Linked DNA regions of Homo sapiens: all the other regions are linked to region 4. The links are contacts of gene promoters, found by promoter capture Hi-C in blood cells and fetal thymus (Javierre and others, 2016). All regions are on one chromosome and are shown on one strand. Each heading gives the region's core, a stretch centred on a gene start or on the middle of the fragment in contact. The rest is flanking DNA. Distances are from core to core; before and after follow the strand shown.

Region 1 (3,347 bases), core at 36-2,535, 220 kb after region 4:
AAACCAGAGCCTCAAGGTGGCTTGGGTAAAGTGCCTACTGGAATTTACACTTTCTCACAAGCATCAGAGAGATGTTAGGACACAAAAAACTCTTTTGTGCTGCAGAAGATTTTGCAATCTTTGGGTGCCAGGAAAGGTTTCAGTTTCCTTAGCTGTAAAATAGAGATCAAAGCCCCCTTGCTTGCTTCACTGGATCATGTGGAGAACAAAATATAAGCATGAAAGTGAAAACACCTCGCACATCTAGGGAGAGCTTGCAGTATTGCTATGAAAAGTGGTAGCATAAATTAACAGCATGAAGCATTTATGTATCATTTCTCCAACAACCCACTTTTCAGCAATGATTTCCTCACATTTGCATTTTGGTGCTGTTTTGTTGTTTAGATACGAATTAATGCTAAATGTTAAACTCTACTGGGTTCTCTCATTCAAATTGGAGTAACACAGGGAAGGCAATTCTTGTATTCATGGTCTTCTGTTTTCAGGGGGCCGTGGTCTCCTGCAAAGTGCTAAAGCCTCTCTCAAGTATGATGAAACAGCGCCACCGTGTGGTCTCGAGGCTTACCATCATTCACTCATTTGCCTTTGGATTTTTACGGAGCATTGGTCAATAAACATCAGAATATGTGTAAATGCATATTGAAATAATGGAAATTGAGGTAAATTTGGTGGAATCCTCCCATAGCTGTATTTGTGAGCACTTATTAGAGAAAGTATCCATTCATCATTGGCATGGACATGCTTGAATAAGGTTTGTGAGTGACAACAAGCTTAATATTGTCCAAAAGTCTATCTTGGCGATGGTGGTAACTAAAAAATGCATTTTTCCAGAATATCTCCCTCCATTCTCTGATGAAAGAGTCTATATAATGTGTGTATTTCATGAAATGCATTTTATTGTATGCGGAGGGGGAGAGAGAGGTATATAAGGCAACATATATTTAACAGAAAATAAGAATGAAAAATTGTAAAAGTCTTCTTGGCTAGGGCCACTCATTTATCCTGAAGTTAATCAAGCAACCAAGACCAAAGCACTTTGGGGAGCGGCGTGGTAACTATGCATTGGACTGTTACTAAATAGATGAGCCTTTGCCAGGAAATATTTGTTAGGGATAATAGCACAGCAAGGAATGGTTCTCTTCTTTTTAAAATGGCTTATGAATGACAATAACAATAATAACTTACTGTGTTTATTTAGCCAGGCACTGTCTGAAGCACTTTGCCTGCATTGTTCCGTATATTAATTGGAGAGGAGTTCAGTAATGGCCATTTTAAAAATATAATCTAATTTTAAAAAATGCTAGCCAATGTAAGCAGACACACATTCGAGATAAGAGCTAAGCCAGTGTCATTGGCGCTAGACTCAATAGCTCTGAATGCGCTGGGTGGTTGATTCCCTCTGGTGGCCATTCTGGGAATTTACAGATGTAATGCAAATGTCACACAGTACTATAATAATCACAAGCACTGGGATACATATTGGTGAATGCAGTCCTGTCCAGGGAACATGAAGCCACTGGGATGTGACTGTTAGAGTATGACCATCTTTGTTCTTATTACGTTCCTGCTGTAGATGAAAGAGAGAGTAAGTGAATGATCCACTGATGTGCTAGGATTCAATATGGAATGTGGACAGGAGCATACAAAATGATGGGCGTTAATAAGGGGCTAACATGCCACTCTCTGTTTTCCCCTTCAGCTCTGAAATCAAATGGGAGAAAACATTGAAAATGTTAAATAACCGAATGGGTAAGTAAATTGTGTTGTATCCACTGGATCCATTTGAAATAGAAAGCTTCTTTTTATAATATACATTACATCAATGCTCAAGCATTTGTATGTATCTATACATAGAAAAGATCTAGAAGGATAGTTACCAAGTTGCTAACAATCGTAACCTCTGGGGATTAAGGTGAGGACAGGGCAAGAGGATGAAGACTTTTGTCTTTTACTTTATCATTCATTTATTAACACAAACTTGTATTTCTTTTATAATGAAACAATCAAAGTAAACAAATTATAAGAACCAAATATATGCCCCTCTGAAATGTAACATGCCCTGAAAATGTGATAAGTGGGTTAGGGAAATGTTGTAATTCATCTTACGTTTTAGAACTTCACAATATATAGCTTTAAATATTAGCAATCATAGAGCCCCTCTAAAACAGAGTACTCTAAAAGTTTTAGTAGAATTTGTATTAATTCCCTGATATTTTTCTTGCTTTTGAACTTATGAAATGGAGGAGCTTACTTGACCACAGATCTAAAATATTTTCGTTACTTGCTGAGGAGTGTGTGAGCCACCAGTTAAGGCAAGAAATTTGGAATTCTGCTTCCAAGTTCCAATTTAGCTATTCCTTTATTTGTTGATCTTATTTAAAAAAATGTCTTTTCCTGCAAAGCCAATCCAAAAAGGCACATAGTGTTTTGTACACCACAATTATTAAAAATCACTCTGATTCCATGTATGTATATTAGAACTTTGAATCAAAACATTTAAGGTGGTTTTGGAAATCTATATCTAATGTTTAAAATAACATGATATAAAATAGACATTGGTTTTGGGGTGCGGGATAAGGAAAAGGGAGGAAAGGAAAGTGTAGGGACATGAAATGGGGCCAGACGTGAGATGAGTCCACAACATACACTAATGAAAATGAAGTTCTGCAAAACTTTTGGTAAGGGTGAATCATAGATTTGGTTTGCAGTTTACTAGCAATTCAAAGAAACAGGGTAAGCTCCAGGAGTCGCAGGCCCACAAGGCATAGATGAGTCGATTGTTAAGGAGGAACAACAGCTACTGGGCTACTAAGACAAGAAAAAATTGTCTCCTGCTTGACTGGGTTCTAGTTAAAAATAAGATGGTGTTCATCAATCGCAGAGGGAGACGCAGGAGAAGGAGATGGGATCCAAATCCTGGCAGGCTCCTTACTCCTGGGTTGGAGGAAAGACAGCTGTCCCCAGTCCCTCAAAAATTTTTATTTTCCATTTTTAGTAGCCTGCCTTTCCCATCTACCCTGACCCCAACCTGAACTTCATCCTTTCCTCAGTGGGCCCTGAAACGTTCCCCAGTTCTTCTTTATCAGACTAAGCTCAATGAAATGGATTTACTAGACTTTTTCATATTTATGTGTGAGTGATTAATAATAGATTCTGCCCCTGCCCCACTTAGGGCATGGGCATTTATTTTTTGTTCTCTTAGCATGGCAGCTGGGCAGGTGGTCTCAGTATACGTTTGTTATAACAATGGTTACATTTCACTTGGCAACATCATTTATCATCTCCTGTGACTTTTCACTGTATTTACAAATTCCCCTTTGGCTGTAGAGATCACAAGTGAACTCTAA
Region 2 (3,654 bases), core at 1,047-3,546, 190 kb before region 4:
AAAATCTGCTGTGGAATACTATGAAGGCACAAAAAGGAATGAGGTGGCTAATATCGAAAGCTCTCCAAGATGTTCAATTTTAAAAATGAGGCATAGCTCGGGGTTTCAGTGCATGAAACAGGTCTGGAAGAGACTGCTAAGGGCTGAGGTTGTGTCTGTCTGCAGAGGAGATCTGGGTGGCCGAGGGTCAGGAGAGGTAGGGAGATTTGGTTTTCACTTATATCCTTTTACATAATTTACATTAAAAAAAAGTATAGCAAACTTTTTAAAAGGTTGTTTACAATTACATTTAGCACTTGTTTAAATATACCTAGGTTAAATTTCTTAGCTTCCTTTTTTAAAAATGATTCCATGAAGTGACCACTACAAAGGTCCAAAACTATCCCTGATTAACATCATTTCAAGTCTACTGTGACTTTTCCAGAATGTAATTGAGGGTTCAAAATAAATTAACTGAGTAATCCAATAGTATGACAGGCTTTGTATAAAATAAAATCTAAGATAACATTCCTTTTGTGAAAGATAATTTTGACAGATATCATGTAGATATCTTAGCCTTTATTAATAGTCTTTCATTACGTTGTTAGATGTTTTGTATGCAGTGTCTTATTTAATACTCATAACCAGGGCTGGGTGCAGTGGCTCATGCCTGTAATCTCAGCACTTTGGGAGGCTGAGAGAGGGAGATCACTGGAGGTCAAAAGTTCAAGACCAGCCTGGCCAACGTGGTGAAACCCTGTCTCTACTAAAAGATACAAAAATTAGCCAGGCATGGTGGCACTAGCCTGCAATCCCAGCTACTCAGGAGGCTGAGGCATGAGAATTGCTTGAACCTGGGAGATGGAGGTTGCAATGAGCTGAGATCGCATCACTGCACTCCAGCCTGGGTAACAGAGCAAGACTCTGTGGCAAAACAAACAAACAAAAAACTCACAACCAGCTTATAAAACAGGTATTATTAGTCCCATTGTACAGGCAAATAAACAGAGGAATAGTGAGGTTGCCCAGAATCACATAAATAATCACATATATTAATCATATAGTGAAGCTGAATATTCAAATCTAGCATTGTCCGGATCTGAAAAGCATACTTTTCTTCATTACAAAATTCTGTCTCTCATACTAGACACTGCAATGTCCTAGGACTGCACATATATTATCACACTTCATTTCCAAACAGCACTATGAGGTGGGTACTCTTATCCCATCTTACAGACTTGGAATCTGAAGCCCACAGAGGATGGTGCCTTGCCCAAAGTTGGCCAACTCATTTGTATCCCATAAGAATAAATTATGGCCAGTAACATGTACACCCAATAGTCATCTTGGGAAGACTGACCTACCATATTTTATCATAGCAATCAAACTCATTTATGTCACAACATTCAAGCTGTTACTTCAGTCTCTCTGTAAGTATATTAAGCCTGCCTTCATCTATTTCCAACCTAAACCTTACCCCTTACTGTAAGACCAGTAAAAATAGATGGGGCCCAGTCAGGCTGTCTAGTTGGCTCTGATTCTTGAAGCCTCCTGAGACTGGGAGCCTCCAGTTTTCCTTTCCTTCTGGGTTTTGGTGTTCTGTGGTTTCTTATCACTTGCTTTAAAAATAACTTCAGGGAAAATATTTCTAAAGATCACACGCACTGCATTAGCAACACTTCAGACACCCCATCAACCACACCACAGAGCAACAAACAGCACAGGAAGCGTGTCTGTGATGTACAGGAAGAAGCAAGAGTAAGGACCCAACAGCCGAAACAATCCCTCACAACCTGCAAGATGCTAACTGAAAGCTCCACATTAAGCTCTGCATTAGCATGCATTTATCACTTCCATGCCAAATGCTTGAACAAATGTATGCAGGAAGGAAAGCTTTCCTGTCACCCCGTGGCAGCCTGGGTGACAGCATCAGTAGGTCTATGATTAAAGGGTTAAGAGTAAGGCAAACAACAAGTGGTCCCAATGATTTCCGCAAGAGAAAGTATTCACATTACATAACAGAGTGAGAAGAATAGACCCCCTCTCCGCACTCTGCTGTTATGAGTGTTGCATGTCTTCATAGAGTTGGGGACAGCTGTACTGCGTGCTGGCAGCAGTCATATCCTCTTGCTGTTTGCACAGTGGGACATTTGTCTTCCTAATCGCAGCATGTGAAAGTTCCTACTTCCACTACCAGAGTCTGAAACTAAAATTAAAACAAACCTTTCCTTAATAGTTAGCTCCTGTCTGAAGCTGTTTGTACTGGTACCCTCTGTTTATCTATTTTCAGCAGCACGGTCATAAGGAGGAATTGTATATTTACACACCTGTGCCTTTATAAAAGATCATTTGTTCATGTTCTCCTCTCTCCATTTAACAAACATTTACCCATCACTCTATTCCTGATCCCAAGTTAGGCACTGGGTACACAAAGATGACAAAGTCCTTTCCCTGAAGCAGCACCCAATCCTAGAGGGGAAGCAAGCAGAGGGGAGTGTATGAAGGAGTGCATGCAAGGGTGGTGGGTGCCGGAAGACAGGAGCCAGGTTCCTGGCAGGGGCGAATGGGAAGCTAACAAGGAAGACCTCACAGAGGAGATGACATTGGAGCTGGGCAGTGACGGATGAGTAGGAGTTTGCCAGGCCCTGTGCCAGGGAGGGAGAGAAAGGTGGAATGCTTGTTGTTTTCACTTCAAGCATTCTGAGAAGCAAGGAGACTTTCTGGTTTGCATGTGAAGCTTTTTTTTTTTTTTTTTTTTTTTTTTTTTTGAGACAGAATCTTGCTCTGTTACTCAGGCTGGAGTACAGTGGCACAATCATGGTTCATTGTAAACTCAGACTCCTGGGCTATAGAGATCCTTCTGCCTCAGACTCTGGAGTAGCAAGGACTACAGGTGTGCAGTACTATGCTTAGCTAATTAAAAATTTTTTTTTGTAGAGACAGGGTCTCACTATGTTGCAGGTTGGACTTGAACTCCTGGTCTCTAACTCCTAGGCTCAAGAAATCCTTCCACCTTGGCTTCCCAAGAAGCTAAGACTACAAATGCATGCTACCACACCCAGCTAATTTTTGAATTTTTTTGTAGAGACAGAGTCTTACTGTGTTGCTCAGGCTGCACTTGAACTCCTGGGCTCAAGTGATCCTCACCCTTGACTCCCGAAGTGCTGGGATTACAGGTGTGGGTCACCATGCCCAGCCTCAACGGCGTGTTTTCTCACACTGGATAGTTAACCATTTTTATTGGGAGTCAGTTCCTCAACAAAAGCCGTCTTTCAGTACCTGTCTTACATAGCCAAATACTGGAGGGTCAGGCAATCTTTCAAAGCTGACAGATTTCAGGCTTGCAATCTGTCAGAGGGCAATGAGAGGGCCACAAGGGAGATTCTCCAGGAGGAATCTGCTGTCCCACCTTCTCTTGTAGGCAAACGGCCCATTAGCTCTTGCTGCTCATGGAAAAACTCCCATCACGACTGTCCCCAGTGAGTATCTTCTGGCTTCTGGTAGAATGAAGAGGTGTGAGTCCCACTGCAAAGCTACCCCACTGGAGCTGTCCGTGTGTCCCCTCGGTTTTCCCTGGCAGCTTTACTCTCCTCAGCACCAAAGCAGAGCCGAATGCTTGTACACACCAGGTGCTCAATAAATGTTTGTTTGCTCAACCCACTGGGTGACCACTAT
Region 3 (3,540 bases), core at 1,010-3,509, 230 kb before region 4:
GACTGCTAGAGCAGGAACACCGATCTTCTCCTGCCCTTGGTATTCTTGGTTCTTAGACCTTCAGACCCAGACTGGAATCAACACCATCAGCTCGAGAGCTCTCAGGCCTTCCAACTACACCACCTGCAACACACACATACGCACACACACACATACACACACATACAATTGGTTCTATTTCTCTGAAGAACTCTGATGAATACATTTTTTTGCCAATATCTTCCATTCAAATGGAAACTATATAAGGGCAAAGATTACTGTGCTTTGCTTACTGCTATATCTCTAGAGTCTAAAACAGTCCTGGCCCTTCCCAAGGGCTCAATACGTATTTACTGGATGAACACATGAATAGCATCTAGGATCTTCCCTGGATGGTCCTTGCTTGTGTGTCCAGAATATGTTCTTACTGACACACATGCTCTTGCCCCACGACATCCTCACCCCTCAGTTCTTCATGTTCCTCATACATAGCTTCTGTAGTTTCTGAAGCACACCCTCGGCTGCTCATACTTCTAGGATATTATTTGGTGGGGTTATGTCCTCTGCCTGGAATTCTAATATTTGTTCTTCAGTCTCTCTATGCCTTAGCCTGGCAAAATCTCACTGATTTAATTTAAAAGTAAGAGCTGAAATGCTGCCATCCTGGGGAAGTCTCCTGCCTCTGAACTTTATAAAAGGCCTGAGTTAGGGCCGTGGCGATCTTACTGGGATTGGGATTGTTGGCTTTTATGAGCTCTCAATGTGAGCTCCTTGAGGGAAGGGCTCCTGTTTCTTCACCTCTGCTGTCCCAGCATATTGCTCACGGTGTTCACAGAGCTCAGCCTCATGGCATAACACAATAAGTGAAAGGCAGGTTTGCTTATGCTCCCAGATCCCTTTCTGGGGCTCACTGAAATTTCAAAAGGGGTATCCATGGAAAGACTGGCATTGGTGGTAGCTCACACCTTGATGCTTTATGCTTCCAAGCTACGGGACAAAACTTGTTCCCCTGTCTGCTTTCTGAATCTCCAGAGTGAAGACTGAAGACCACAGGCAACAACTGTGACTTCGAGCCAGTGATTCTGCTAATCGAAGTCCCTCACATTCTTTAGAGGGTGAACATGTGAACCAACATAAGCCACCCAGATGCTCTGCCCCTGGAATTTGAGACTTGAGTAGAAACCATTAAATGAAACTGTTAAGAGTTGATTCACATGCATGGCAGAGCCTAATAACAACAATAATCATTAATAGTTATTGAGAACTTATGTACCAGGCATTGTTCTAAGCACTTTCTTTACATATATCAACCCTGTCGATCCTCATGATTACCCAAGAGGTAAGATCAGTTATATCCATTTCCAGAGGACTAACTGAGGCACAGAGAAGCAAGGTGCAAAGGGCAGGTTGGACTACCCTGGAACTCTGACGCTAACCATCACCTCTTATTGCCCAAGGTCTGTCAGTCTTGCTTCAAATCCTTTCTCAAGCCCTCTGACCAGCTTTTCTTTCCATCCAGGGAATTTCCTCATATCCTTCTAACCACAATTGGTCCGCCCTCCTAGGCCCTGCTTTTTTTTTTTTTTTTTTTTTTTTTTTGCTTAGTTTAGTGAGAATAGACTTTTATTGCTTACAATAGAATTCTAAGTGATATTTCCATTAAATCAAAATCTCCAGGGCTGGAGCCAGGGTGTCTGTAAGGTTTGCCAGGCTCCACAGGTGATTCTGACTCACACCCAGGACTGAGAACTATGACTTTGGGCAGCAGTTCCAAAACCCTGAGAGAATAAATATTATCCTAGAAGCTTAGGACACCTTGGCAGCACCTTCCCATTGATTTTGATCCATTCTCACAGTGGGCTTCCAGGAACACCCAAAAGCCCAGCCATGAGTGGCACTCCTCTATCCAGCCCTTCTTCCCAGCAGCTCACTTTCACCCACTCTTCTTTGCTACATCTTCTTTGGCACCGTGATTCCTTGGCTCCATATGTTGGCTCTCAAAATCTGCCTTAGGCCCTCCTTGTTTGGACAACCCAATTAGGCATACTTTTCTGGCACGAGCCTGGCACTCTGTTGGCTAGAGTTTTTTGTACTCATCTTTGGCATCCTGGAGCCACAGGTCCAGGTGAAATGAATGTTTTCTCCCATCAAGCCAGATCCCCAGGAGGCCATGTTGGCTGGGCTGGCTGGCTGACCTCCCAACCAGGGCCAGAGAATCAAACATGATGGGCTGACTTGTCCACACTTCTGATCGACCAAACAGGGATTTTACTTTAAAATAAGAAATACTGTAAAGGAGACTCAAAATCCAGAATTTAATCATGAAGATAAATGTTATCTTCACATCTAATCTTATGTTCCTCCAGCTTCCAATTATGCATCTTCCTTTCTTTTGGTCTTCAGTGCAAATGAGAATCTGAGAATATTCTCTACAGAATAAGGCTTCCATTATTAAAAGCCATCTCTGTGCCACTAGATCGCCTGTTCTTCCTCAAACTAAATAATCCTTGTGCCTTTGACCTTTTCTAATAGGTCCCAATTTCCAATCCTTAATTCATCTTCATTATTCTCCTCCAAACTCTCTTTAAATTCTCCACATACCTTTTAAGCCCAAAGAGCTTGAAGTACCCAACAGAACTGAATCAAATCAAGGGAAAACTCATGCTGCTGTTAAATTTCTAGAGGAAAAAAGATTGGGTGAGTATACTCATTTAATTCCTCACTCTTGTTAGTAAATTCCTTCCATCAAAGCTTAATGGTATTTGGGTTAAGTGGTACTATACGTACTTTGGAAAAGGCAAAGTGTCTATCATTCTTAGTTTTCTCCCAGAAGTTACTTTTTTCTCTCTCTCCTAGAAATGTAAGAGTATTAAGTATTCAAAGTGATGGATAAAATTAATCTACCTAAAGAAAAAGAAAGGAGAACAGAATCTGGGAGATGGTAGAAATTCAAGGCTTGTCTGTTTTTGCATTATAGCTCCCTAAGGAGCCTTTTTAGACAGGTTTTCTCTCAAGCACCTCCCCACAAAGGAATTTTAATATTACATATAGACTGTATATCTGTTTATGTTCTATATAGGTATTTGTGCTTTATACATATAAATAGTAAGGGTTTTTTTTTTGGTAAGAACCAAATTTCTCCACTTTAGGGGTGATATTGCCCCCTTTGAGAACTCATTGTTCACTGATAACGTCATGACCTTCAGAATGCTTTTACATATATTCTCCCACCAGGAGGGTGGAATTGTATCTTTGCCTTCTTCTTATAGACAAGGAAGCTGCAGTTCAGAGTGATTAACTAATTTGCCCACAGTCCTGCCCAGGGATAGCAGCAGATTCAGAGTTAAAACCCAATTCCTGATATCAGGGCCAGCACTCATTGCTCTATATTGTAATGATTACATAAAATCCAGAAGCCTGTTCTCTATTAATTTTTTTTTTACAAATTACCTACTTTAGCATTTCTGAAGCAAGCACTCCTCCCAAAATAATTCCCAACATGGTAATAAATAAAAGAGTAGAAGTGCCTTATTAATGCTTGTCCTTGCTTTCAACTATGCT
Region 4 (3,366 bases), core at 1-2,500:
GCCTACAGATCTCTGTTTGTACTTTTGCCCTGGGTCCTGCATATATTAAAGGTGGGCTGATTTTGGCCTTAAAAGAATTATTTTCCCACAAACAGATTTTTCTCCTTAAAGAGCTAGGTGGGTAGGAAGTACTTCCATATGGAAGGTATGATAGCAAAGAATGACTGCAGTCACTGAGCACATACTTTGTGCTGGGTGATTTACACATAGTTTTTCAGTGAGTCCTCACAACAACCCAATAAAGTAGGTACTTAGGAGAAAACAGATATTCAGTGACATTAGTTTGTTCCAGCTCGTAAAACTAGTGCTTTAGTTAGCCTTAGTTGCATAACAAACTACGCGAAACTGAAAGTGGCTTAAAACAATTTTTCCCCCTGACTGTCGGGTTGGCTGGGCTGCTCTACTGCGGGTTTCCCTGGGCTCACTCCTGCAGCTAGCTGTGAGGAGATGGAGGTTGGCCCGGGACAGTGCAGAAGATTCCCCGTGGCCTCTCCCACCTGTCTGGCAGTTGACGCTGCTGTTGCTGATAATGATGACCCTCCTTTATTTTGTGTTATCTACTTGCCATTGCAACCTCCTTGCCTTTTTTAGTTCTTGCTCCCGTACTGTCTGGCTCGATGCCCAGCACCTGGTGGTGGCTAATAATATACACTCAGGTCACTTACAAGCAATGTGACCCTGGATGGGTTACTTAACCTCACTTAGTTTGTGTCCCCCAATTGCAAAATGGGTATAATGGTACAGAACACATCAGGTGGCTCTGAGACTCCAGCGCAGTGATTCAGGAGAGTGCTTGGCAGGACAGTGGCACTTGGTGCGAGCTTACTGCTAGTGCAGCTGGAATGTAGACCATCAGCGAACGTGTGTTGCCTTTTTAAACAGTGGGAATCAAACACCACTCGCTTTCCAAATGTAAATCCTGGGCTTGCAAGTAAGTCCTAGAGTGCAGAAATAATTTCAAAATACAGGGTTGAAATTTTAAGATAGCAGCTTTTAAAAACTGGGAGACAAAATCAAAATAAAACAAAGGGACAAACCAACCTGAATGGCACCCCGCCGATGCTCTTCATTAATTTTTAAGATTCCACCCTGGGGCTGCTTGCTTCTTCCAGCATGGGAAGCGCTGACTTGATGCGGCCAGGTTTCTGGGACCAGGAGGTTGGGACACGACGACGCACTTTTTGCCCTGTGGGTCTGGGTCATGTGAGCCTAGAGGAGCGCTTAAAGGCTCGAGTTCTGCAGGGTCCTCGTGACTGGGTGGGGCTGCCTCACTTCTGCCTGATTTGGGAAGCGCTGCAAGGACAACCGGCTGGGGTCCTTGCGCGCCGCGGCTCAGGGAGGAGCACCGACTGCGCCGCGTAAGTGCCGCCTGCCCTGCGTGGGTCGTGCCAGCTCAGCGGGACAGGTCCTCGCCTCGGTCCCTCGGACTTAGGGAGCGCGGGGCAGGTAGTCTCAAAAGCCCTCAGCACCAACAGGGGAGAAAGCACCGTAGAGTGAGACTGGAGTGGGGTGGTCGTGGCCGAGTCAAAGTTCAAATTGGAGCATTGGGGATGTACTGCGTGCGCCCAGCCGAGGGAATACTCTTGAAGTTTCCTGGCACAACTGTCGCACCCGGGGTTCTTCCAGGCTAGAAGCCGTCTCCTACTCCAGGAGCTCCTCCGGGGAAGTACGAAGCTGTGGGGTCCTCTGCCGCTCTTAGCGCGGGAGGGTGGCGGGTGCAGGACACTTTCCCTTACTCCCTCAACGCGTGTTTTGGGGATGTGTTGATTTCGTGGGTGCTCAGAAGCAAGAGAAGCGGAAAATACCTTCTATTTTGAACGTGCCCAAAGCAGGGAAACTTGGCTTCTGCCTAGGAACGCATAGGAAGACTTTTATTCTTGGAATGTAGGATTAGCAGAAACCAAGGGCACAGGAGACAGGTGGAAGCAGCTCCCTGTGAAGTGATACAGAAACAAAAGGACTTTGGAATATTTGTGGATTTAAATCCCAGTTCTGGCCTTGGCTAGTGAGTGACCTCGGGCAAATTATTTAAGCCTACTAAACCTCAGTCTTTCCATCTGAAAGATGGAGATAATAAGTTTTTCTTTTTAAAGAATTGTTTTATTGGAAATAGAAATAACATACAGAAAATGCCTCCCTAGCACGGGACTTGGCTTTTCAGCTAAGTGTAATTTTCCTTATCAGTTATGATTGATGATGAAGTCTATGGTGAAGACAGAACAAAATAATGTTTAAAACTCTGGCCATATAATGACTGTGGCTATGCATGACCCGTGTGCAGTCACCTCTGAGCCCCCCACCTTCACTGCAACCCCAGTGGGTCCCAAGCAAGGTGCTTGGGTTTTGGAGCTGGACAATTCTGTGCAATTCCTGGTTCCGGTATCCACTACTTGGATGACATCAGGGACGTAACTTATCTTCCACAGCCTCAGTTTTGGCATCAGTAAATGAAAAAGGAGCCCCTCAGTACTTGCCTTTCCCTTCCCCGGCTAAATGTACAACTCATTTTTTTTCCATTCTTTGCTTTGGGATGAGTAAGAACAAAGATGTAAGCAGAGTAAAAAGTCCATTGAGAATACATTTTATTAGCTTGGTAAATAACGTTTAAGAAAGTTGTCCAAAAGGAGAATTGGAGCACTTTTGGAAAAGTACACTGCACCGGCTTTGTTGGCATATGAAAGTCTGCATGGTCGTCAAGACCGTTTGGCTAACTGGGCATTCTAGATGTGTACCTCATGCTAGTCTAAGTACAGGGGCAACCCTTTATAATGTAGTGTCAGTGTTCTTAACCAGATGTTGTTTTATTAATCTTTTATAGGAGATGATTGTTTGGGAGGGGCAATTGATCCCCCAATTTATATAAATCCAGTTTATAAATCACTTTATAGTGGGATTCTACTAGCCTGAGAAATAGGTGGGTTTTGACTGACAGTTTGAATGACTTAGAAGAGTGTTAAGAAAGTCCACTGGGTTTACCAGTTCACTCCCCACAAAAAATAAAAACAAGAAGCAAATAATATAACAGAATTCTAAAAATGAGTTTGTTTTTGTTTTGGGAAGCATCTAGTTTGTCAGAGGAAACACTGAGTGTTGAATACTACCCTGGGATGCACAGAACTAAGGCAATGAGAGGGGAGGAACTCAGTTCTTGCCCCAGGTATCATCAGATATCTGTTTATTAGCACCCAAATACTCAAGGTAAATAGTAATGACCCATTCTTTCTTTTTTTGAGACAAGAGTCTCACTTTGTCACCCAAGCTGGAGTGGCACCATCTCTGCTCACTGCAACCTCCATCTCCCGGGTTCAAGGGATTCTTGTGCCTCAGCCTCCTGAGTAGCTGGAATTACAGGTGTACACCACCATG
Region 5 (3,214 bases), core at 172-2,671, 250 kb before region 4:
TTAGCCAGTCATGGTGGTGTGTGCCTGTGGTCCCAGCTACTCAGGAGGCTAAGGTGGGAGGCACTTGAGCCTGGGAGGCAGAGGCTGCAGTGAGCCATGATTGTGCCACTGCACTCCAGCCTGGGTGAGAGAGTGGGACCCCCCCCTCATAACATAAACATGGGAAAAATGATGAATTTTGTGTTATGTATACTCTGCTACAATTCTTAAAAATGGGCAAACATCAGTGAAGCCACTTGTACAGCAATGAAAACAAGGAATGAAATGCGCCTCACCTGAGAGCCAGCGTGTAGCATCCTGGTTGCCGCTGGCTTTCTCTAAGGATGTAGGCACCCTCCACGCCTCCAAGAAGCTCATCCGCCTGCTCCCGAGAGATGATCCCATGAAACCTGAAGGTACAAGACCATCAATGCTCTGAACAGACCACATACAGAATAAGGACCACAAAGAACTAGCCTTAAAAGGATGGTGGGGGCACCCAGAATCGACAGCCCCACAACTGAGTGAAGAAGGGGGGTGACTACTGCCCATCTTAAGTGACTTGGAACCACCCCTCACATGCTCCAAACACAAGTATTCAAGCAGGCAAACAAAAGGAAGGATGCCCAGTCCACCTGGCTTTCTGCTATTGTCTTTGCTTTCAAGTTGAAAATGAAAGTTGAAACAAAAAGCCAGGTTACTCAACCACCGCCCCCCCCCCCCCTTTTTTTTAACCATGGGAAATAACAGAAGAGCAATTACCAATTTAGCTCTCAGCTCAGAGAACTATGTGTTATCCTAATTGCAAGTGGACATTTATTGATTAGCAACCTGCTTGCTTCAGGTGCAGGGTGGTGTTAATTTTAGAGGCTCATTTTCTGGAAAGAGGTAGCTATCATCAACATTCTTCCAGTTATTTACACTTGGAGAGCAATAGCTTATGGGTATTTTAGAAAATGTACCTATTTTTCTTTTTTAAAGATAAATTTATCTTCTCTACCATTTTAAAACCCATACACATGCATGTGGAAAATGTGGCATATCCGGGAGGGTTGTGTGCTGGCCCATGATCACTCTGATGTGGAGGCAGTTGTCTGAGGCCCAGAGAGTGGACAGTGACTCCACAGAGGAATAGGGAGAGGTAGGAGTTGGGTCAGGAACCAGCCCACGTTCCCTGTTGCCTTTAAGTAAATACAGCTGCTCCTCCCACAGGACTGGAGATTTGATCAACCAGTATTTCATGGAAAGTGGGGCAAGCTGGGTTGGGGAAATGAGGCAGTCCCAAGGGACTTCAAGCTTCTGGGAAAGGAGTAACACCCCTTTCTAGGATTATCCAACCTTGGAGAACTTTGGATAATAAATCAGAGAATAAATTTTCTGGACAGAGAAAAACACCTTTACTTTCTTGAAGAGGAGGAAAGGGAAGTAAGCTAGACAAATTTTCTTTTGTTTTGTATTTTCCTCAGGAATGCAAAGATTAAGTTAGAGTACAAATGCAGAAGGATAACATTTTTAAAAGTGCCTATCACAATATTTATTTCCTAATTCCCTCTATCCTTAAAAAGTAGACCTTCCAAGCTGAAGCTTCTGTCCAAGGAAAGTGAGGTCAGAAGCAGCCTGTGGCTTTGTGTTTCAAAATCGCTTCTTAAAGGTGTACGGCAGTGATGGCCTGGAAGAAAAAGGCTTTCTGGCTTCCCAAATTTTGATTTTAAATCTCAACAGCTGATGTCTGGAGGTCTTGGAGCAATGCTCTTCTGAGTGAGGATGAATGTTCTGTGAATCCCCGGTTCTGGTGGGAGGGACTGAGGCAGAGCCCAGTCTCAGGGGGTCTAACTGGCCCTGCATAGCAGGTGTGGATTGGAACCGGGAGGCCAGTTTATTGGGGCCTGGAGCAGAGGTGTTGGAGCTTTGATAGTGAGGTCACTGGACCTAGGAACTTTGCGGAGGAGCCTCCTGTGCAGCCTGAGCCAGGTTGGAGAGGATGGGACAGATGGCCTGGGCAAAGAGCCCTGGGGGCAGCCTTGCGGATGGGTTGGCGGGTGGGTTGGCAGTGAGTGTGGGGGTGGGTGTGGGGGGAGGGACATGCAGCAGGAGAGTGGGAGGGGCAGACAGCATTGCCAATATTCCAACACATAAGTAGAAAAGACAAAAGCTGGGATGTCGAAGACACAGCCCGTGGGCCAGAGTAACAATAGCAGGACAGGGCACGCAGAGGGACCTGCCCCAGGTCACTCCAGGAGAAGGGACAGGAAAAGGGGTAGTCTCTAAACAAGGCAGTTAACCCAAAAGCAGCTAGATTTTTTTTTTTTTTTTTTTTTTTTTTGGAGAGAGTCTCACTCTGTAGCCTAAGCTGGAGTGCAATGGCGCGATCTCAGCTCGCTCACTGCAACCTCCGCCTCCCAGGCTCAAGCAATGCTCCTGCCTCAGCCTCTCGAGTAGCTGGGACTACAGGCACACCCCACCATGCCCGGCAAATTTTTTGTATTTCAGTAGAGATGCGGGGAGTGGGGGCGGGTCTCACCATGTTGCCCGGAGTGGTCTCGAACTCCTGAACTCAGGCGATCAACCCGCCTCGGTCTCCCAAAGTGCTGGGATTACAGGTGTGAGCCACTGTGCCCAGTCAAAAGCAGCTAAGTCTTATGTTTCTTTTTTAATTCTTGATTTTGAGTATGCATACTTTTTCTATTTTTATTTTTAATTGATATATAATTATTGTACATATTTATGGAGAACATGTGATATTTTGATACATAAGTACAATGTATAATGATCAAATCAGGGTAATCAGGATGCCTGTCACCTCAAGCATTTATTGTTTATGTTAGGAACATTCGAAAGCCTCTCTTAGCTATTTTGGAATATATAATAAATTGTTTTAACTATAGTCACCTAGAACTTAAGTTTTAATTCACTTGAATTGGCAAGTTTAAGTGATTGACAGCGTCAAACAGTGTCAATAACTAAATTAAATTCAATCATTCAAAAGAAGAAAATGACAATTTTGTGCACCTGAAGACCAGTCTGTGGCTTGTCATCCCCTTTATGCATCATTTTTAAAAGTCCAAATATCTCCAACCTATAATATCTAATATATTTGTATGACTGCAACTTGGTAAGAAAAAAGCAAGCATGCACAAAGACCAGAAAGAGATGAAGAGAAAAGGTTAGCAATGATTCTCTTTCATGGTAGAACTATGGGTATTTTCCCTCTTCTATTTTCCTTTATTTTCTAATT
Region 6 (3,756 bases), core at 410-2,909, 210 kb before region 4:
CAGATAGAGGAAAGAGGAACTGCAGGGAAAGGAAATGATGAGCTGACTGGTCAGCAAGAGGCCAGTGTGGCTGCTGAGCCAGGGCGTGGGATGTGTGAGAAGGCCATGTGGGGCTGGACCTTGAATGACATGCTGGGGACCGTGACTGTCCTCCTGTCTGTAACAAAGGGACAGTCACATGTTTGAGCAGGAGCCATGATCTACTCTGTTTTAAAATATTGGTAATAGGGATAAGGTTATTCAGAAGAAGAAATGCTGCCCTTTTCTGGGCACAGACCATGTGCCAGGCATATTATATGCATCTTCTCACTTCATCTTCCCAAAAAGCTTCCAAGGTAACTGTTATTCCCCTCACTAATAAGGTAGCGGGGTTGCCTGCCAGCTTTGAAGATGCTCAAGGTCACACAGATCAGAGGATGAAATGAAGATTCATTGCCTTGATTTCCAAAACCCAAAGGCTGTAGTTTTCAGCCTCAGCCAGTGGTTGCCTAACTAGATGGTGGAGAGGTCCCATGAGGAGCTGCTCACATTAGAAACTCCTAGGAGTTATAAAATAATACAGATTCCTAGACTCCATCTCTGGCATTGCTTACTCTCCCAGTCCGGCCAGGGGCCCCCAGATCTGTTCTTTTTAAAGCTCTTCAAGAGACTCATGCATATCCAGGAGTAGGAGCCACTGTCCTTTGCCTTGCTGAAAGAGGGATCAGACATGGGGAACACTGGAGACAAGGAAGCAAGAGAGAACAGTGTTTTACTGGTACACAGATGAGGTTGTGAAAGTGTGAGTTAAGATAACACTGGTGCAAATGCAAATGAGAAGGTGAGTTGATGGCCTCAGAGATTCAAAAGAGAATCAACAAGACTGGTTTACAAAGAGACCCTGAGCGGCTGAGAGATTGAGATGCTACTATACAAATAAAGGATGCAGGTGATGGAACATTTCTGGACAGTTCCTCTCCTATGTCAACAGGCTAAATCCCATAGCTGCATTCTCTAGGAACCCTCTGAGCTTTAGCAAAGAAAAATTTGGTAATTCACCAATCTCACAACCAACAAAGAACAATCCCCAGCCAGGGGCGACTTGGAGGAGGGAAGGGGAAGGCAAACCCCAGAAGCGAGGAACTGCCACCTCTCTCTCCTGGCCCCTCGGCAGTAGACATCATTATTTGATGACTTATTTCTCAATGAGCAGGTCTCAGAATCTGCAAAACCCTGTTCTATGCTGTTCCAAACAACAGAAGTTGGCAAGTAGGCACAGAAGCCTATTTGCCATCTGGGTTACCTGGCTGGCTATAAAGATAATGAGATGACAATCAATTACCACGGCAACCATATAAAAATAAGGCCCAATCTCCTCTCTTAGCTTCAAATGAGAGCCTGCCCATCATTTTCAAGGTTAGCTATAGCATCCATGAAAAAAATCTCTGAGGCAGAGTTGAATATAACAGAAATTTATCGCATAATCTGAAAACGTTGCTTCTTGAATTTTCCTTGTTCAACAAACACATTTCACAAGTCACATGCAATAATGTATGTCAATTCTTGGGTGGTCTGTGAGCTGAGAGGTGACGTGATGGAATTACTTCTGCAGCAATGTCCCAAATATGTGCCAGGAATTCCCAGCCCCGGGCCCTCTGCCGCACACCAGAGAATTCTTAGCACCAGAGTAAGCTGTTTGGCAGGGGTGGCAGCCACTGGGGAACACGGAGGTGGAGCTCCCTAACTCCCCAAGAAACCCAAAGCAGATTAAGAAATTGTGAGCTCACTGACAGACTGTTTTACTTTTTCTTCAGTAAGAAAACTTGACTCACTCTGGGAACAGAATCAGACGGCTAATGGGTGAAAGCCCACAGCCTGGGTGGCCTTGAAGCCCAGGCCAGCCCCATCAGCTCCTAAGAGATCCTGCAGGGATGGCTTCTAACAGTCTACTTCTTTCTAAGGAGGGTATATGGACCCAGGAGCTGAACCCAGGCACTTGGCCATGACGCTGAGCCAGTATGACCCTGCTCACTGCTCATGTCTTCCCGATTTTCATGGGAAAACCTTATAAGCAGGGAATTGTAGGTGCTTTAGGTGTCTTCCTTGGCTCAACCCCACCCTCCACCCTGCCATGGGAAGGCCTTGCCTTCCTAACAGAATGTCAATTTTTTTTGTTTTTTTGAGACGGGGTTTTGCACTTGTTGCCCAGGCTGCAGTGCAATGGCATGATCTCGGCTAACCACAACCTCTGCCTCCTGGCTTCAAGGATTCTCCTGCCTCAGCCTCCCGAGAAGCTGGGATTACAGGCATGCACCACCATGCCTGGCTAATTTTGTATTTTCAGTAGAGATGGGGTTTCTCCATATTGGTCAGGCTGGTCTCGAACTCCCAACCGCAGGTGATCTGCCTGCCTCGGCCTCCCAAAGTGCTGGGATTACAGGCGTGAGCCACTGCACCCGGCCAGAATGTCGAGTCTTAATGGGGATTTAATTATCTTGTCTAATGGCACTGTGAAAAACCTCTAGGAGGAGATGACAGTTGCCCACACACTGAGGGGTTTCAGGCGTAAGTATGTATAAGAGAAACCTGTGGGGTTTGATACATTGCAGATCCCCCCACTTTTCTGATCCAGAGATCTGGGGTAAGGCTGAGGAATAATTATCATAAATATCCTCCCCAAGGGATTCTGATGCAGGGATTCTGCAGATCAGGGTTTTGAGGCTCTAAACTTCAAATCTGTAAAACAGGCACAAGCTATGCCTGAGTGACCTGCTGCCCAGGGGAGCCTCCAGGGAGAGCTGTCAGCCACTGCATCTGCTGCCTAATTGGCACTTGGCCTCTTAAGAAAGAAAATCTTTCAGAGCATAACCATGGTGATTGGCTTTTGAACTTGCCTGCTCGAGGCATAAAGTTCATACAGTTCTGGCTTAAAGTTTAGAATGTAGCTTTATTATTATTTTTAAGTAAACTTGAAAGTAGCTCTTCTTTTAGAGCATTGAAACCAAAGCTTTCTCAGTGACGTCATCAATGTTTCTTGTATTCAGTCTTGAGAGTTAAGAATTAGCTGCAGATGTATGATACTTTGGGACAAGATTATTTTATGGAAACAGCTCAGTAAGCCATGAAGCTTTTTCCTTTTTTTTCCTTTTCTAAGAAAAGGAAAGGAACAGAGAGGGCAGGGACTTAAAGGCCATCCCGTGGCATCACCGTTCCTTGAGTCAACAGCCGACCTTATCCATCTTAGTGGCCCAACTCCAAGCACAGTGCCCGGCTTAAGGCAGAGACTTAATATGCATTTGTTGAATGAAGGAGTGACTAAATTAATGAACACTATAATTTATATAAAATATTGAGAGAGCTGATTTCTTACCCTTCTAAATTTCTTAGCCAGATATTTATGGTTGCCTTCCCAGCATCCATTTTCATCTTCCTCCTTCCAATATTACTCCAAATTTTCCAATCATGTTATACAGGGTTATATGGGGTTGATCCTTTCCTGAATTCCAGTAGTGAGTCCTGATTGGTTTAGGGCAGTCAGCACATCCCTGACCACAGTGATAGAGTCAGGAATGGGTAACCCAGGTCAATTAAGACTGAGACTCAATTCCGAGACTTTGTTAGATGTGTCAAGAAAGTAGACTGTCTCTTTGCCTGTTGCTTTTGGATAAGGAAGCACAGCCCTGATATTGTTGATAGTTACAGGGGGATCCCAAGGGAAGAACATAGTAAGAGTAGGGTGAAATCTAGGAAAGCGGAGCCAAGAAAAGAAGAAATATA

Evidence for each region. The method cuts DNA at HindIII sites, captures the fragments that hold promoters and counts their contacts. A CHiCAGO score of 5 or more calls a contact.
Region 1: a fragment that was not itself captured here is called in contact with the fragment with the promoter of CPVL in region 4 in 7 of 17 cell types (M2 macrophages, total CD8 T cells, M1 macrophages and 4 more); the score reaches 8.8 in M2 macrophages.
Region 2: a fragment that was not itself captured here is called in contact with the fragment with the promoter of CPVL in region 4 in 1 of 17 cell types (M1 macrophages); the score reaches 5.5 in M1 macrophages.
Region 3: a fragment that was not itself captured here is called in contact with the fragment with the promoter of CPVL in region 4 in 3 of 17 cell types (endothelial precursors, naive CD8 T cells and activated CD4 T cells); the score reaches 6.0 in endothelial precursors.
Region 5: a fragment that was not itself captured here is called in contact with the fragment with the promoter of CPVL in region 4 in 5 of 17 cell types (megakaryocytes, total CD8 T cells, M1 macrophages and 2 more); the score reaches 6.7 in megakaryocytes.
Region 6: a contact is called between a fragment that was not itself captured here and the fragment with the promoter of CPVL in region 4, in 1 of 17 cell types (endothelial precursors). The highest score is 5.2, in endothelial precursors.

What each region holds. Positions count from the first base shown.
Region 1 is chr7:28,920,013-28,923,359 of GRCh38, reverse strand. No RefSeq gene overlaps it. Among named protein-coding and RNA genes, the nearest start is that of TRIL, 37 kb to the left of the region's middle. The HindIII fragment of the contact is 1,025 bases long and covers 773-1,797 here.
Region 2 is chr7:29,335,853-29,339,506 of GRCh38, reverse strand. The region is part of intron 1 of CHN2 (chimerin 2); the gene reads right to left. Among named protein-coding and RNA genes, the nearest start is that of CHN2-AS1, 130 kb to the right of the region's middle. The HindIII fragment of the contact is 844 bases long and covers 1,875-2,718 here.
Region 3 is chr7:29,379,848-29,383,387 of GRCh38, reverse strand. The region is part of intron 3 of CHN2 (chimerin 2); the gene reads right to left. Among named protein-coding and RNA genes, the nearest start is that of CHN2-AS1, 170 kb to the right of the region's middle. The HindIII fragment of the contact is 946 bases long and covers 1,787-2,732 here.
Region 4 is chr7:29,144,421-29,147,786 of GRCh38, reverse strand. CPVL (carboxypeptidase vitellogenic like) reads left to right here and starts at 1,250. Exons shown (of 13, transcript NM_031311.5): 1 at 1,250-1,358. It also overlaps a transcript of CHN2 not described here. The HindIII fragment of the contact is 3,879 bases long and covers 1-3,366 here.
Region 5 is chr7:29,395,548-29,398,761 of GRCh38, reverse strand. It overlaps CHN2 (chimerin 2), which reads right to left. Exons shown (of 13, transcript NM_004067.4): 5 at 276-389. Among named protein-coding and RNA genes, the nearest start is that of PRR15-DT, 170 kb to the left of the region's middle. The HindIII fragment of the contact is 288 bases long and covers 1,278-1,565 here.
Region 6 is chr7:29,358,925-29,362,680 of GRCh38, reverse strand. The region is part of intron 2 of CHN2 (chimerin 2); the gene reads right to left. Among named protein-coding and RNA genes, the nearest start is that of CHN2-AS1, 150 kb to the right of the region's middle. The HindIII fragment of the contact is 2,659 bases long and covers 330-2,988 here.